Regions from separate parts of the Homo sapiens genome. Here regions 1 and 2 are each linked to region 3. Evidence: promoter capture Hi-C in human tissues and cell types (Jung and others, 2019). All regions are on one chromosome and are shown on one strand. The core of a region is centred on a gene start or on the middle of the fragment in contact, and the rest is flanking DNA. Distances in the headings are between cores, read along the strand shown. Region 1 overlaps CFAP263 (cilia and flagella associated protein 263). Region 2 overlaps RSPRY1 (ring finger and SPRY domain containing 1). Region 3 holds the start of KATNB1 (katanin regulatory subunit B1).

What was found. The method cuts DNA at HindIII sites, captures the fragments that hold promoters and counts their contacts. A contact is called where the count stands out against the background at its distance.
Region 1: a contact is called between a fragment that was not itself captured here and the fragment with the promoter of KATNB1 in region 3, in 1 of the 25 tissues and cell types used here (lymphoblastoid cells).
Region 2: a contact is called between a fragment that was not itself captured here and the fragment with the promoter of KATNB1 in region 3, in 1 of the 25 tissues and cell types used here (bladder).

The regions. Positions count from the first base shown.
Region 1 is chr16:58,255,631-58,260,168 of GRCh38, forward strand. It overlaps CFAP263 (cilia and flagella associated protein 263), which reads left to right. Exons shown (of 9, transcript NM_014157.4): 4 at 2,738-2,893; 5 at 4,224-4,304. Among named protein-coding and RNA genes, the nearest start is that of CFAP263, 8.0 kb to the left of the region's middle. RefSeq lists a silencer at 2,243-2,392. The HindIII fragment of the contact is 5,304 bases long and covers 1-4,538 here.
Region 2 is chr16:57,188,475-57,192,787 of GRCh38, forward strand. All of the region lies in intron 1 of RSPRY1 (ring finger and SPRY domain containing 1), which reads left to right. Among named protein-coding and RNA genes, the nearest start is that of RSPRY1, 4.3 kb to the left of the region's middle. The HindIII fragment of the contact is 4,068 bases long and covers 673-4,313 here.
Region 3 is chr16:57,732,419-57,737,073 of GRCh38, forward strand. KATNB1 (katanin regulatory subunit B1) reads left to right here and starts at 3,352. Exons shown (of 20, transcript NM_005886.3): 1 at 3,352-3,437; 2 at 4,560-4,655. It overlaps LOC107984852 (a long non-coding RNA gene), which reads right to left and starts at 4,226. Exons shown (of 2, transcript XR_001752221.3): 1 at 4,018-4,226; 2 at 1,411-3,189. RefSeq lists enhancers at 1,203-2,180, 2,810-2,919, 2,899-3,193, 2,940-3,109, 4,478-4,547 and a silencer at 3,420-3,659. The HindIII fragment of the contact is 17,781 bases long and covers 1-4,655 here.

The sequences.
Region 1 (4,538 bases), core at 993-3,492, 520 kb after region 3:
GCGATCCCAGCTCCGCCTCCCAGGTTCACACCATTCTCCTGCCTCAGCCTCCCGAGTAGCTGGGACTACAGGCTCCTGCCGCCACCACACCCAGCTAATTTTTTTTGTATTTTTAGTAGAGACGGGGTTTCACCATGTTAGCCAGGATGGTCTCGATCTCCTGACCTTGTGATCCACTCGCCTCAGCCTCCCAAAGTGCTGGGATTACAGGCGTGAGCCATCGCGCCCGGCCCCTAGGTCAGCATTTCTATACGGCACACGTGCCCATGGTTTGTGCCCTGTTACAGAACAATATAGTAGTGTCTCTTAGTGAGTCCAATACAGTCAGTTTCCTCCAGAGAAGAAACATCACTGTTAATTCGGTTGCCCACAGGATGACGTTGTTGGCTTGCATTTGAGAGCCATGTTGTATGAAAAGTAGATACTTCTGTTCTATTTCTAAAGTTTTCTATTTTTCTGTTTCTAAATGTGGGCATTCGCAGAATCACACTCGTCTCAAGAGGGACCAGTCAGTAGACTCATGTCTCCCATTGATGCAACCGTCTGTATCACATCAACTGATCCTGCTCTCCCACCCCTCCTCTCTCTCTTTCTAAACATGCATTGTTGAATTCTAGCAAGTTAAAGGAGCTTGGGATGTGGTAGCATTATCCTGACCCGCTAGGTTGTGCAATGTGAGCATCAAGTGCAGAGATCAGAGATCAGTATGGGCTAGAGTGGTCAAAAAGAATTTGTTGAGGAGGTAGGGCTTAAAAGAGACTTGGCATGATCTTGAAGAATGATGGCATCTGTTTAAAGCACAGGGAAAGAAGGGCACCCCAGGTAAGGAGAATGACATGGGCAAGGCAGTGGAGGTGGGCACAAGCATGACATTGAGGAGGCCGGTGTGATTAGAGAAGACGCTACTTTGGAGGCTGCTTTAGGAAGTCAGGTTGAGTAAGGCAATGATTTCTTGACAGCCATGCCAAGGAGTTTATCTTTGATGTCTTAGAAAGCTGGACCCCACTGAGGATACTTGAGTAGGAGAGCAATGTGTTGAAAGTAGCATTTCAGGTGGGTTGATGTTCTACCATGTGGAGATGATGGGGCTGGAGCCTGAGGCCGGCCAGTGAAAATGCTTTTGCCTCTTGGTGTTCAGAAAAAAAGTCTGAACTAGGATGATTTGCAGTCTGGCTAGAGATACCATTCCATTTTATTTTTTATAGTAATATGTGTGTGTGTGTGTTCTTATTTCAAGGCAATCTATGTTGTAGAATGTTGAAAAATACAGTTAAGCTAAAAGAACATTTGAAAACATTCACAATTTACCACTCAGAGGTAATTTCTGTTGACTTTCCATTTACCTCCTACAGTTTAGATAATTTTCTATGCATATATGAATTTCTTTTTTTTTTTTTTTTTTTTTGAGACGGAGTCTCGCTCTGTCGCCCAGGCTGGAGTGCAGTGGCGGGATCTCGGCTCACTGCAAGCTCTGCCTCCCGGGTTCACGCCATTCTCCTGCCTCAGCCTCCCAAGTAGCTGGGACTACAGGCGCCCGCCACTACGCCCGGCTAATTTTTTGTATTTTTAGTAGAGACGGGGTTTCACCGTTTTAGCCGGGATGGTCTCGATCTCCTGACCTCGTGATCCGCCCGCCTCGGCCTCCCAAAGTGCTGGGATTACAGGCGTGAGCCACCGCGCCCAGCCTGCATATATGAATTTCTTCCAAAAATAGTATCATGTTATTTTGTAAACTGTATTTTTCACTTAACAACATCTCTTTACGTCAATACATATTTTCATTTTATAACATCTTTTTTTTTATTTTTAAGAGATGGGGCCTCACTGCGTTGCTCAGGCTGGAGTGCAGTGGCTATTCGCGGTCGCAATCATAGCACACTACAGCCTCGAACTTCTGGCCTCCAACAATCCTCTTGCCTCAGCCTCCTGAGCAGCTGGGACTACAGGCACCATACCTGACTTTATAATATCTTCTTTATTTTTTTTTCCATTTTTCCCCCCAATACTCAGGCTTGGAAATATAAAGTCTTTTTTTTTTTTTAATAACAGAAATATAATAAGAGTGCCTATTTATTTCCCCACTAATCCATCTCTCTAGATGTAACTGTCATTCATGTTTTGATGTATATCCTTCCAGATATTTTTAATGGATAAATAATTTCAAATATGGAAATACATATTTAGATAGATAGCTTGGCCAGGCGCGGTGGCTCATGCCTGTAGTCCCAGCACTTTGGGAGGCCGAGGTGGGCGGATCACCTGAGGTCAGGAGTTCAAGACCAGCTGGGCCAACTTGGTGAAACCCCTTCTCTACTAAAAATACACAAATTAGCCAGGCGTGGTGGCAGGTGCCTGTAGTCCCAGCTACTCAGGAGGCTGAGGCAGGAGAATTGCTCGAACCGAGGAGGCGGAGGTTGCAATGAGGTGAGATTGTATCACTGCACTCCAGCCTGGGCAATAGAGCGAGACTCTGTCTCAAAAAAAAAAAAAAAAAAAAGATAGATACCTGACACCTGTTTTTGTTTGCTCTCTTTTTATGGATTCTATTTTTTTGAAGAATGCTTTTAACTAATAACATTGATATAGTCAAGTTTGTATCTTAAGGATATGTTCCTAAGACTAAGAAGAAACATAATATTTTGGGACACAAAGAGGCCTGGGAACTTAGGTTTTCTTAGAAGACACATCCTTGAAGATTGCTGGAAACGTTCTTCTCTCTTTGTGCTGACTCCCCCAGGCGATCATTGAGGAGGCTGAAATTCGATGGAGTGAAGTTTCGAGAGAAGTGCATGAGTTTGAAAAAGATATTCTAAAAGCCATATCCAAGAAGAAAGGGAGTATTTTGGCCACTCAGAAAGTGATGAAATACATTGAGGACATGAACCGCCGGAGGGTAAGTTGGCAGACAGAGCTTAGAAAGGGAAAAAACATTCTTACAGGGATGTTATGGAAATCATCCATGTGAAGCAGCCTAGCTCCCTTTGGTCCACCATAAATGTTGCCCACATATGCGGATTTTCTTTGCATCCCTGAAAGTGTATGTGTATATGCATGTTTTAAAATGTATGTTTATGGCTAGGTGCAGTGGCTCATGCCTGTAATCCCAGCACTTTGGGAGGCTGAGGCGGGTGGATCATCTGAGCTGGAGGACCAGCCTGGCCAACATGGTGAAACCCCATCTCTACTAAAAATACAAAAATTAGCTGGGCGAGGTGTTTGTGCCTGTAATCCCAGCTGCTCGGGAGGCTGAGGCAGGAGAATCGCTTGAGCCTGGGAGGCGGAGATTGCGGTGAGCCAAGATCATGCCACTGCACTCCAGCCTGGGCAGCAGAGCAAGACTCCGTCTCAGAAAAAATAAATAAATAAATAAATAAATAAATAAATAAATAAATAAATAAATGCGTGTTTATCAAGGCTAACACCAGCCAGGCAGGAGGTATACTAACAGTACCTCAGATTGATCTCTGTTTTTTGTTTTGTTATTTGTTTCAAGATCTGATATATTTTCTTGAGAAAGGTATGAGACTGGTCTGGTCCAGCCTATCTAGAGAGGTGACTGTGGAGTAGGACAGGTAAATCTCTTTTTCAAAATTTTAAAAAAACCTTTAAAAAAATTGTTATAGAGATGAGGTCTCACTGTGTTGCCCAGGCTGGTCTTGAACTCTTGGGCTCCAACAGTCCACCCACCTTGGCCTCCCAAAGTGCTGGGATTACTGGGTGAATCTCAAGCTCTTTGAGATCCTTTGTTATCAGGAGATGGACCTTGGGCTGTTATGAGAAAAAAGGAGAATTTGGGGGGTAACCTTCATTTCCAGAGATTTTTACAACACGTCAAGCTTTAGATCCTGGAGACAAGGTAGGGTTATTACTAATCCTAATATGTTAACAGTAATAAAAATTATGTAAACTACCGTGGGAATACAAGACCAAAAAATCGTAAGATCATTTTGTCAGGAAAGGCCCCTACAGTAGCATACACCCAAATAATCTTGAATTTGAAAGCAATATAAAATTTGCATGGTGCAAAACCAGTGTCCTCTGCTTCTTGGTCATGAAATGTCATACCAGCCCCAGCTTGAGTAGAAGTAAAAGGACCTAAAATAAGTGACAGAATGTTAGGGCTCAAGGTTTGGTTTGCAGCCCCAGAACCATCCACTTTTCAAACCAATGGGAAAAAGGAGAGAAATGGATTAAATGCATTAAAATATGCCTTTATGTTTTAGGATAATATGAAGGAGAAATTACGTTTGAAAAATGTTTCTCTCAAAGTTCAGAGGAAAAAAATGCTTTTACAATTGAGGCAGGTATGTGGTCCTTTTTCTCTCTCTCTCTGTTTCTTTTTAAGGTTACTGTGGTAGGCTGAATAAGGTTCCCACCCCCACCCCAAAATATCCATATCCTAAACCCTGGAATCTGTGAATACATTAACTTACATGGCAAAAAGGATTTTGCAGATGTGATTAATTTAGGATCTTGAGATGGGGAGATGGTCTTGAATTACCTGGGTGGGCCCTATATAATCTCCCTCCTTATCAGTG
Region 2 (4,313 bases), core at 1,457-3,956, 540 kb before region 3:
TGGGATTTTTTCCGAAGTAATTTAGTTGTGTTTTTGGTTTTTTTGTTTGTTTGTTTTTTGAGACGGAGTTTCGTTCTTGTTGCCCAGGCTGGAGTGCAGTGGCGCTATCTCGGCTCACTGCAACCTCCGCCTCCTGGGTTCAAGCGATTCTCCTGCCTCAGCCTCCGGAGTAGCTGGGATTACAGGCATGTACCACCACGCCCAGCTAATTTTGTATTTTTAGTAGAGACGAGGTTTCTCCGTGTTGGTCAGGCTGGTGTCGAACTCCCGACGTCCTGTAATCCGCCTGCCTCGGCCTCCCAAAGTGCCGGGATTACAGGCGTGAGCCACTGTGTCTGCCTTTCGAAGTAATTTTTGTACTGCTCTGAATTTTCTGTTTTTGTGATCCTATATTCTGTGGATCTTTTTAAAAACTATAACTGGTGATTGTGAGTTATTTGATCTCCCAGGATGCATGTTGCCCTAACCTACTATTTAATGTCTTTCTATGTTATGCTTTTTTCTGTACTCAGTGACTTTTTTTTTTTTTTTTTTTTGAGACCGAGATTCCCTCTTGTTCCTCAGGCTGGAGTGCAATGGCGCGATCTCAGCTCACTGCAACCTCTGCCTCCCGGGTTCAAGCAATTCTTCTGCCTCAGCCTCCCAAGTAACTGGGATTACAGGCAAGCACCACCCGTGCCTGGCTAATTTTTGTATTTTTAGTAGAGAGGGAGTTTCACCGTGTTGGTCAGGCTGGTCTTGAACTCCTGAGCTCAAAGTGATCTGCCCACCTTGGCCTCCCAAAGTGCTGGGATTACAGGCATGAGCTACTGTGCCTGGCCCTCAGTGATTATTTTCAAGTTATTGATTATAGGAGGTATACCAGCATACTCTATGTGGGCTTCTGCTTTTGTCAGCAAAATAACTTTTCATTTAGTAAGTATCAAAGGGAAATAAAAACTTAGCATTTTGTATAATAGTGTGTTAATCTGTAGTGAATCAGGTAAAAACAACAAATCTGAGTTATGTAGCACTGTGGGGCCTGGAGGCTAAAAAAAAAAAAAGTGTGTTTTGTCAAGAGTTTAACAAACAATTATTCTGTATTTCTTTTTTTCTGTTTTTTCTTTTTCTTTTCTTTTCTTTTTTTTTTTTTTTTGAGACAGGGTCTCATGCTGTCTCTCAGGCTAGAGTGCAGTGGTGCAATCACGGCTCACAGAAGCCTCTACCTCCCAGGCTCAGGTGATCCTCCCACATCAGCCTCCCAAGTAACTGGGACTACAGGTGCGAGCCACCACACCTGGCCAATTTTTGCACTTTTTTTAAGACAGGGTTACGCCATGTTGCCCAGGCTGGTCTCAAACTCCTGGGCACAAGCCATCCACCCACCTTGGCCTCCCAAGGTGCTAGGATTACAGGTGTGAGCCACCATGCCTGGCCTCGTGAGCTTAATTTAGTCTGTTGAGAATTGTATATGCTTTCCTTAACAATGAAGTAATTTGTTCTAATGAAGTGGGAAATCCCTTTGCATCTTTTTAAATACAGCTTTCTTTCACACTCTATATAGTTTGGAGAAAATGTTAGGAATTCTTGAAGGTAGTAATCACTATTACACTACTTAAGATTGGAAGTTATGGCTGGGCATGGTGGCTCACACCTATAATCACAACACTTTGGGCGGCCAAGGCGGGAGGATCACTTGAGCCCAGGAGTTCAAGACCAGCCTGGGCAACATGGCAAAACCCCATCTCTACAAAAAAATACAAAAATTAGCCCAGCGTGGTGGCACATGCAGATAGTCCCAGCTACTTGGGAGGCTGAGGTGGTAGAATCTCTTGAGCCTGGGAGGTTGAAGATGCAGTGAGCCACTGCATTCCAGCCTGGGTGACAGAGCAACACCCTGTCTCAAATAAATAAATAGGAAATGTTCTGTATTTTTTAGTAGGATACTTGTAAAGTGGGGTGTGATAGTCTCAGGATTGCAAAATAAGTGGAAAGTCAGTAGTCACCACAAATGGGAAACACAGTGGAACCAGCAATCTATTTCAAAAGAATTATTTGGGGATAATAAACTATGGATTTAGCTTCTCTTCAAGCTTTTGGCATTTTCAAGGCAGTTATCATTGAATTTGGGTAGTTTTTTCCCTGATATTCAAATTAGAAAATTGAAAAGCAGAATAATCACGAAGTAGTAAATGCCGTAACTTGGGCAACAGCCTTTTGGAGGGGACTTTTACAACTTTTAGAAGTGCAAAGGAGTGAATATTTCCCTTTGGTTTATCATTCAGTAAGTCAGCTTTTGAAATCCTTTTCTTGCCAACCTTTGTGAGTAGAGAAAACATACAAATGTGTCCATTCCAAAAGGGAGTGGTTGCTGGTTAAATATGTAAAAGTAGTAACTTTAGATAAATGTGTGGTATATACAAGGTTAAATCAGGAAAAGTTATCTTATAAATAGTGGTGGCCTCTTAGAGAACATTCCGCTTTGTTTCTGAGCTTTTGAAAACTGAGAATACATTTGAAATAGTAAGGAATTTATGTACTCCTTAAATTTGTTAAGGAATGAACTCTGCACATAGCTTTCTTGTTGCTTGAAATTATAGTTTCCAGGCGTAATTTCATAGGTCCTATGTACCTCAAATAGAAGGTTTGAAATACCTTACTCAGCAAGTATATTACCTCATAGTTTAATGTTCAGTGTTAGTTTTTTCTTACCCCTCTACCTCCTGAAGAATTGTTTTCGCTCTTGTGTTCCCTTAATGCAGTGATTCTCAAGATGTGGTTTCTGCCCAGTCCCTCCACATGGGAAATATAGCACTGTTTGTTTGTTTTTTTAAGTTTTTATTGCTTCATAGTTGTTCATACTTAGGTATGCCTAAGGGCTACTTATTAATAACCTACCAAGTGAATTACTAAGGATTACTAAAACATGGTATTCATAACCTAAAACTAGAACAATATTGGAGTTTACTGTGGTCTCTTAATACTTTTTTCGCCCAGGAAGTCTGTCCTGGGAAACCTGGCACCAATACAAGCTTCTCACATGTCATATGCAGAATGGGGATTCCTGCAGTATTCAGGAAGTATGCTTAGTTTGGGGTGCATCATCTGAATTGTCTCAAAATAATGTCAGTTTTCATCATGATTCCTCTTTTTTTATTAGAATTTTTATTTAACTTCATCTTTATCAATTTAATTTATAGGTTTTTTTGTTTACTTTTCATTGTGTGGGCAGGAATATTTATACCAACAATATTTTGGCTTATAATGTAAGACATAAATGTGTTACAATGCAAAGATAGATTCTCTAGTCCCCTTTTGCTATTGCTGATTTGTATAGTCACCTAAAAACTTGCTCACACAGAGGTACTTCAGTGTTACCAAAGTTCCTTTTACACTGGAAAACTGATGGAACAAGAGGCCTCCTTCTAGTAGATGCTTTATCTGTAGTCTTTGGGTAGGGAGCTAAGTTTGTCCCTAACCCCAGCTCCCTTTGTCAGGAGCATGAGGGACCTTTTTCCGTCTTTCCTCACTGCCTGCCATATAAGCATTGGATATATAGTTATTGAATGGTGTTGTCTCAGTTTTTCAAAATGGTAAATATTTTGGAGAGACTTTATGTTACAGATTTTAGAATAAATTCACCTAAGATATTTATTGAATACATATTAGGGTCTAATAAGTATCCAAATGAGTATGCAGTATGAGTGTTTTAGACATCATTTAAAGTAGACATCATTAAGGAAAATGTTGATATTCATGCTGCTTATATATTTTATTTGCTTTTCTTAAGAGCAGAGAGTTTTCTGTAATAGAAAAATCCTTTTCCTTCAGATTTGTGTATATTTGAATAACACATGATCTCCTATTATTTGGCCTCCTGGGGGGAAAACCACAAGTACTACGGAATATTACATTTGTTTTTCTTCCCTGTACTGCAACCGTCATAAGCATTTACCTCAATTCTTCCTTAGTATTTTTTGGGAGTCCAAGGCAAATTTTTCAATCCTTAAGATTTCAGGCAGGGATTATTTACTTCCCCTTTTTTACTATTATTTGCTTCCGGAAATTCCTTACTCTATCCTAGGCCTAAATTTTATTTTTTAGTAAATTATTTGAATGCTGAAAGGATTTGTCTTTTCTCCTTTGTACCATTTTAGGTCAGGACTATATTCTGTAATTCTTTCTGACCACAGATGCACTGCTACTAGGTTAAAAAAGCTCTCAACTTTTTAGAGGAAGGTTTTTCCAGAGACTCTTTTTTTTTTTTTTTTTTTTAAGGTCTCACTCTGTCTCCTAGGCTGAAGTGCAGTGGTGCGATCATGGTTTACTGCAGC
Region 3 (4,655 bases), core at 2,102-4,601:
ATTCATCAAGTAAGAATGATGAACAACTCAACCGAAATGTAGATAGATAGTTATCTGCTAAAAGGCATGTGCTAGAACTTTCATAGCAGCATTATTGATAATAGCACCATACTTGGAAGTTACCCAAATGCCCATCAAGAGCAGAATGGATACATAAATTGTGGTCTTCAGATATTTTGGGTTGTCTTTAACTGCTTAGGGAGAACTGCTTAGGGAGAATGCTACTGGCATCTAGTGCATACAGGCCAGGGATGCTGCTAAACATTCTACAATGCCCAGAACAGCCCCCCACAGCAAATAATTATCTAGGTCTAAATGCCAATAATGTTGAGGTTATAGAGTATATTAGTCTGTTTTCACACTGCTGATTAAGACATACTCAAGACTGGGTAATTTGTAAAGAAAAAGAGGTTTAATGGACTCACAGTTCCACACGGCTGGGGAGGCCCCACAATCATGGCAGAAGGCCAAAGGCACATCTTACATGGTGGCAGACAAGAAAGAATGAGAACCAAGCAAAAAGGAAAATCCCTTATAAAATCATCAGCTCTCGTGAGACTAATTCACTACCATGAGAACAGTATGTGGGAAACCCCTCCCATGATTCAGTTATCTCCCACTGGGTCCCTCCCACAATATGTGGGAATTATGGGAGCTACAATTCACAAGATGAGATTTGGGTGGGGATACAGCCAAACCATATCATAGAGCAATGAAAATGAATGAACTGCAACACAACTATATGGAATGATATGGTCAAACTGCCTAAGTATAATGTCAAAAGATTCAAGACACAAAAGTACATACTCTATTATTCCATTTATGGAAAGAACAAAAATAAGGAAAATTAATTGGTGATATTAGAAGTCAGGACAACCGTCACTCTTGGAGTGTGAGGGTTAGTGAATGGATGTGAGCATGGAGCCCTGGGAGGGGAGGTTCTGGTTTCTAGTCACGTTCTGCTTTTTGACCTGGGTGTGTTCGGTTTGTAAAAATTCATCAACCTTGTGCACTTACAATGTGTCCTCTGGAGTGTTTTTGACTGCTTGTTGTCATGAATCTAATCAAGCCTTTAGCCCTAACTTAAGAAATTCAAGGGAAGAAATGCATTTAAGAAGAACGTCCATCTAACAAGAACTTCAGGAAATTCAGGTAAATGATACTAAAAGGAAACATTCCTAACGTGGGACAATCTAGGTAAATGGCCTGATCTCTTCAAAAGATCGATGTCATAAAAATAAAAGTTTGGGGACAGAAATGGAAAGAACTTAAGAGTCAAGTGTGGTGAATACTGATTGGTTCTTAGTTAGAAAAAAAAAGTCCTAAAAGGTTTTTGGGATGACTGGGGACATACGAATATGGACTGGTTGTTACAGAATTAAATTTTCTTAGCAGTGGTGATAACAATGGTTATTGTAGAATAAGGGCTTTATTTTTATTTTTTGAAATGGATCTCACTCTGTCGCCCAGGCTGGAGTACAGTGGCCCCATCCCAGCTCACCGCAACCTCTGCTTCCCAGTTTCAAGTGATTCTCCTGCCTCAGCCTCCCCAGTAGCTAGGATTATAGGCACGTGCGCCACCACGCCCGGCTAATTTTTGTATTTTTTTGTAGAGACGGGGTTTCACCATGTTGGCCAGGTTGGTCTCGGACTCCTGACCTCAGGTGATCCGCCCGCCTTGGCCTCCCAAAGTGCTGGGATTGCAGGCGTGAGCCACCGCGCCTGGCCAAGGGCCTTATTTTTAAGAGATACATGCTCAGTATTTGGTGTTGGGGTGAAATGTCATATCTACAATTTTCAAATGGTTCCGAAAAGACACACAGACGAAGCAAATATGGCAAACTGTTAACAAGTACTGGAATCTACGTGGTATCATTATATTGTCTTTTAAAGTTTTCTCTGTTTAGTTTTCTTTTTATAATACAAAATTAAGGGGAACTGCAGGCTAGACAGTTTTGATCCGATGTTATTCTGCTAATCTTTTAAAGGTGTCTTGCGGTGACTCACGCCTGTAATCCCAGCACTTCGGGAGGCTGGGGCGGGTGGATCACCTAAGGTCAGGAGTTCAAGACCAGCCTGGCCAAAATGGAGAAACCCCGTCTCTACTAAAAATATAAAAACTAGCCTTAGCCCGTCGTGGTGGCGGGCGCCTGTGGTTCCAGCTACCCAGGAGGCTGAAGCAGGAGAATCTGAAGCAGAAGGCTGAAGCAGAAGGCAGAGTGGGGACTCCCCCACGCTTTGGCTTTCAGAACAAGGGTTCGAATTCTGGGGCTATTACTTTCTGACCGTGTGGTTTTCTGCAAGCATCTTAACCCGGGCCTCAGTTTCCTCATCTGTAAATGGGAACAGGAATTCCTACCTCTTATGGTTGTACTGGGCGTTATGTGAGCCCAAGGAGCCCTGACCTGCGGTGAGAGGCTGGAGGCCGAAGGGCAAGGTTCGAGGGGCTCTGGGTGCCTGGGACAACCTCTGGGCAACAGGGAGAGGCGGCTGCGGGGCCAAGTCCCTCCTAAGCGGCCACGCGAGAGGCCCTGAGTCGAGAAGGGTTACGGCGCTTCCCAGAGCCCACCCCGCCCAACGTGTCACAAATAAAGCTGGCCTTTCTCCGATTCCCTGATTGCAGCCATTCAGGGAGCAGCCCCTTGCCCACGCATCCATTAGTCGAGGCGGTGGCTGCGTGTGCAGTGCTACAGGGTTCAGCGCCTGCCTCGGCTCCGGAATCAGGCTGTTTCCTTCTAGACCTCCCATGGGGGATTCAAGCCGGCGTCCGGGTCAAAGAACAGGGACAAAGTCCTCCTGCCACGGGGGACCATCTGCAGGCAAAGTGAAGAATGAGGAGCTTCGGCAAAATGCCGACTAAGGCCTCCTTAGGTTTTGCCCCACTCCAAGATGGAAGGCCTGAGGCTTCACACTGCCCCCGAAGTTCCTTTCCCATTGGCTATCTGGGAATTGAGTTTTCCAATAATGCGGACGCTGATTGGTCAATCCAGGACGGTTGCTCAAGCCATTGGCGCAGCCGCCATTGGAGGGCGGCTCTCAAAAGTTTTCAGACACAAATTAGGTTCGAGGGAGGAAACGGAGAGGAAAGGGAAAACTTGAGACGGAGGCGGGACTAAGGAAACGGCAGCTTGCATTGGTTTATTAGAGGCCAAGGGGCGGCTCTTGAACGTTCCTTCCTCTTGATTAGTCCTATTTAGGAAAAGAGGGCGGGTACTGAGGAAAAGCGGCAGAAGCGCCTGCTTCCATTGGTCAGTCCTGGCAGGAGGCGGAGCACCCGCGGCAGCTGATTGGTGCGGGAGGCAAGGTGGGCGGGGCTCTGAGCCGGAGGTTTTGTTGTGAGGGTCGGTTGTCAAGCAGCGGCCAATCAAGGCAGGGGATGGAGGCAAGTGGGGGTCGCGCCTGGAGCGGAGCCTCGGCCTCCGGAGCCGCAGCTGCAGGTGGAGTGGGCAAGGGGACGAGGTGGCGAGGGGACGGTGGGCCCTGGGCTGGGCCGAGCCAGGCGGGGCTGGCTGGGCTTGCGGGCAGAGAGCTCTGAGCGTGGGGAGGCTAGAGCCCGTACTCCGCAAGCAGAGGGTTGGGAGGATCAGCCGTGGCCGAGGGACCTGCCCCCGCCCCCGGACGAGAGGGGTCGGGGTGGAGGCCGGAGGGGGCAAAACCAGGGAGGCCGGAAGCAGAGCTGGGGGTCTGCAGAAGGACAGGTAATGAATAGGGAGAAGAGAAGTAGGAGAATGAATGAATGGGAGACCCCGCGAGCATATGGGAAAGGGCAGTAACGGGAGTCTGGCGAGGCAGGGGCCACGTGAGGGATATCGGGAGACAGGATGTGCATAAGTGGGAGACTCAGGGGGCAGGGAGAAAAGGGGGTGTGAACGGAGGACTAGAGAGGCAGACCCGGGGACCCAGGAGAAAGGGGACGGAGGGGAGCGGGCTCATGGGAAAGAGGTGAAGTGGCTGTGGGAAGGAGGTGGGAGGCTCCATGAGGAGGCCTTTTAGAGTTGAAGAGTCATAGCCACTTACGCCCAGACTGGAGGCCTAGTTCCTAGCTCTGTCCTTGGGAATCGCAGGGAGCAGGAGCGGTTCCCTTGCCAGGAGCTGGGGAATTGGACCATCAGGGTCGTCTTCGAGATTCTTTCCAAGGAGGACTTCAGTGGCCGTCTCTGGGATGCCTTTCCTAGGCCCCTAAGCTTAGCTTCTGACTCCGCTCTCCCACATCCCACACGTCAGACAAAAACAACGACTCGCAGGAAATCTATGTGAATTGCAGACACGTGGTCTTCTCCGCCCCACTGCGGCTGCTGCACTTTAGGCAGCCAGCATCCCGGAACAGAGCTGCAGCTCATTATCCTGGCCTCTGGGAGGAGTTTCTTTTTCCTTACGTTCCAAATCACCCTACCTGAGGTGCCCCCTCTGCAGATTCCCAAACCTAATTTGCAGTGCAGCTTCTGACTCTGGTGGCTTTGGTGGGTGTCAGTCTTTATCAAGTGGTCTTGGTGATCCAGGGAGCAACAGCTCTTACCAAGCATTTTCTAACATGACGTCACCTCTTGTTTGTATTGCAGCCCTGTATTGAGCTGAGATGGCTCGAGCCTAACATTCCATGATCCAGGATCGTGACAGATGTGCACAGGCTGCTGCTGTTGCTGCTGTGGGTAATT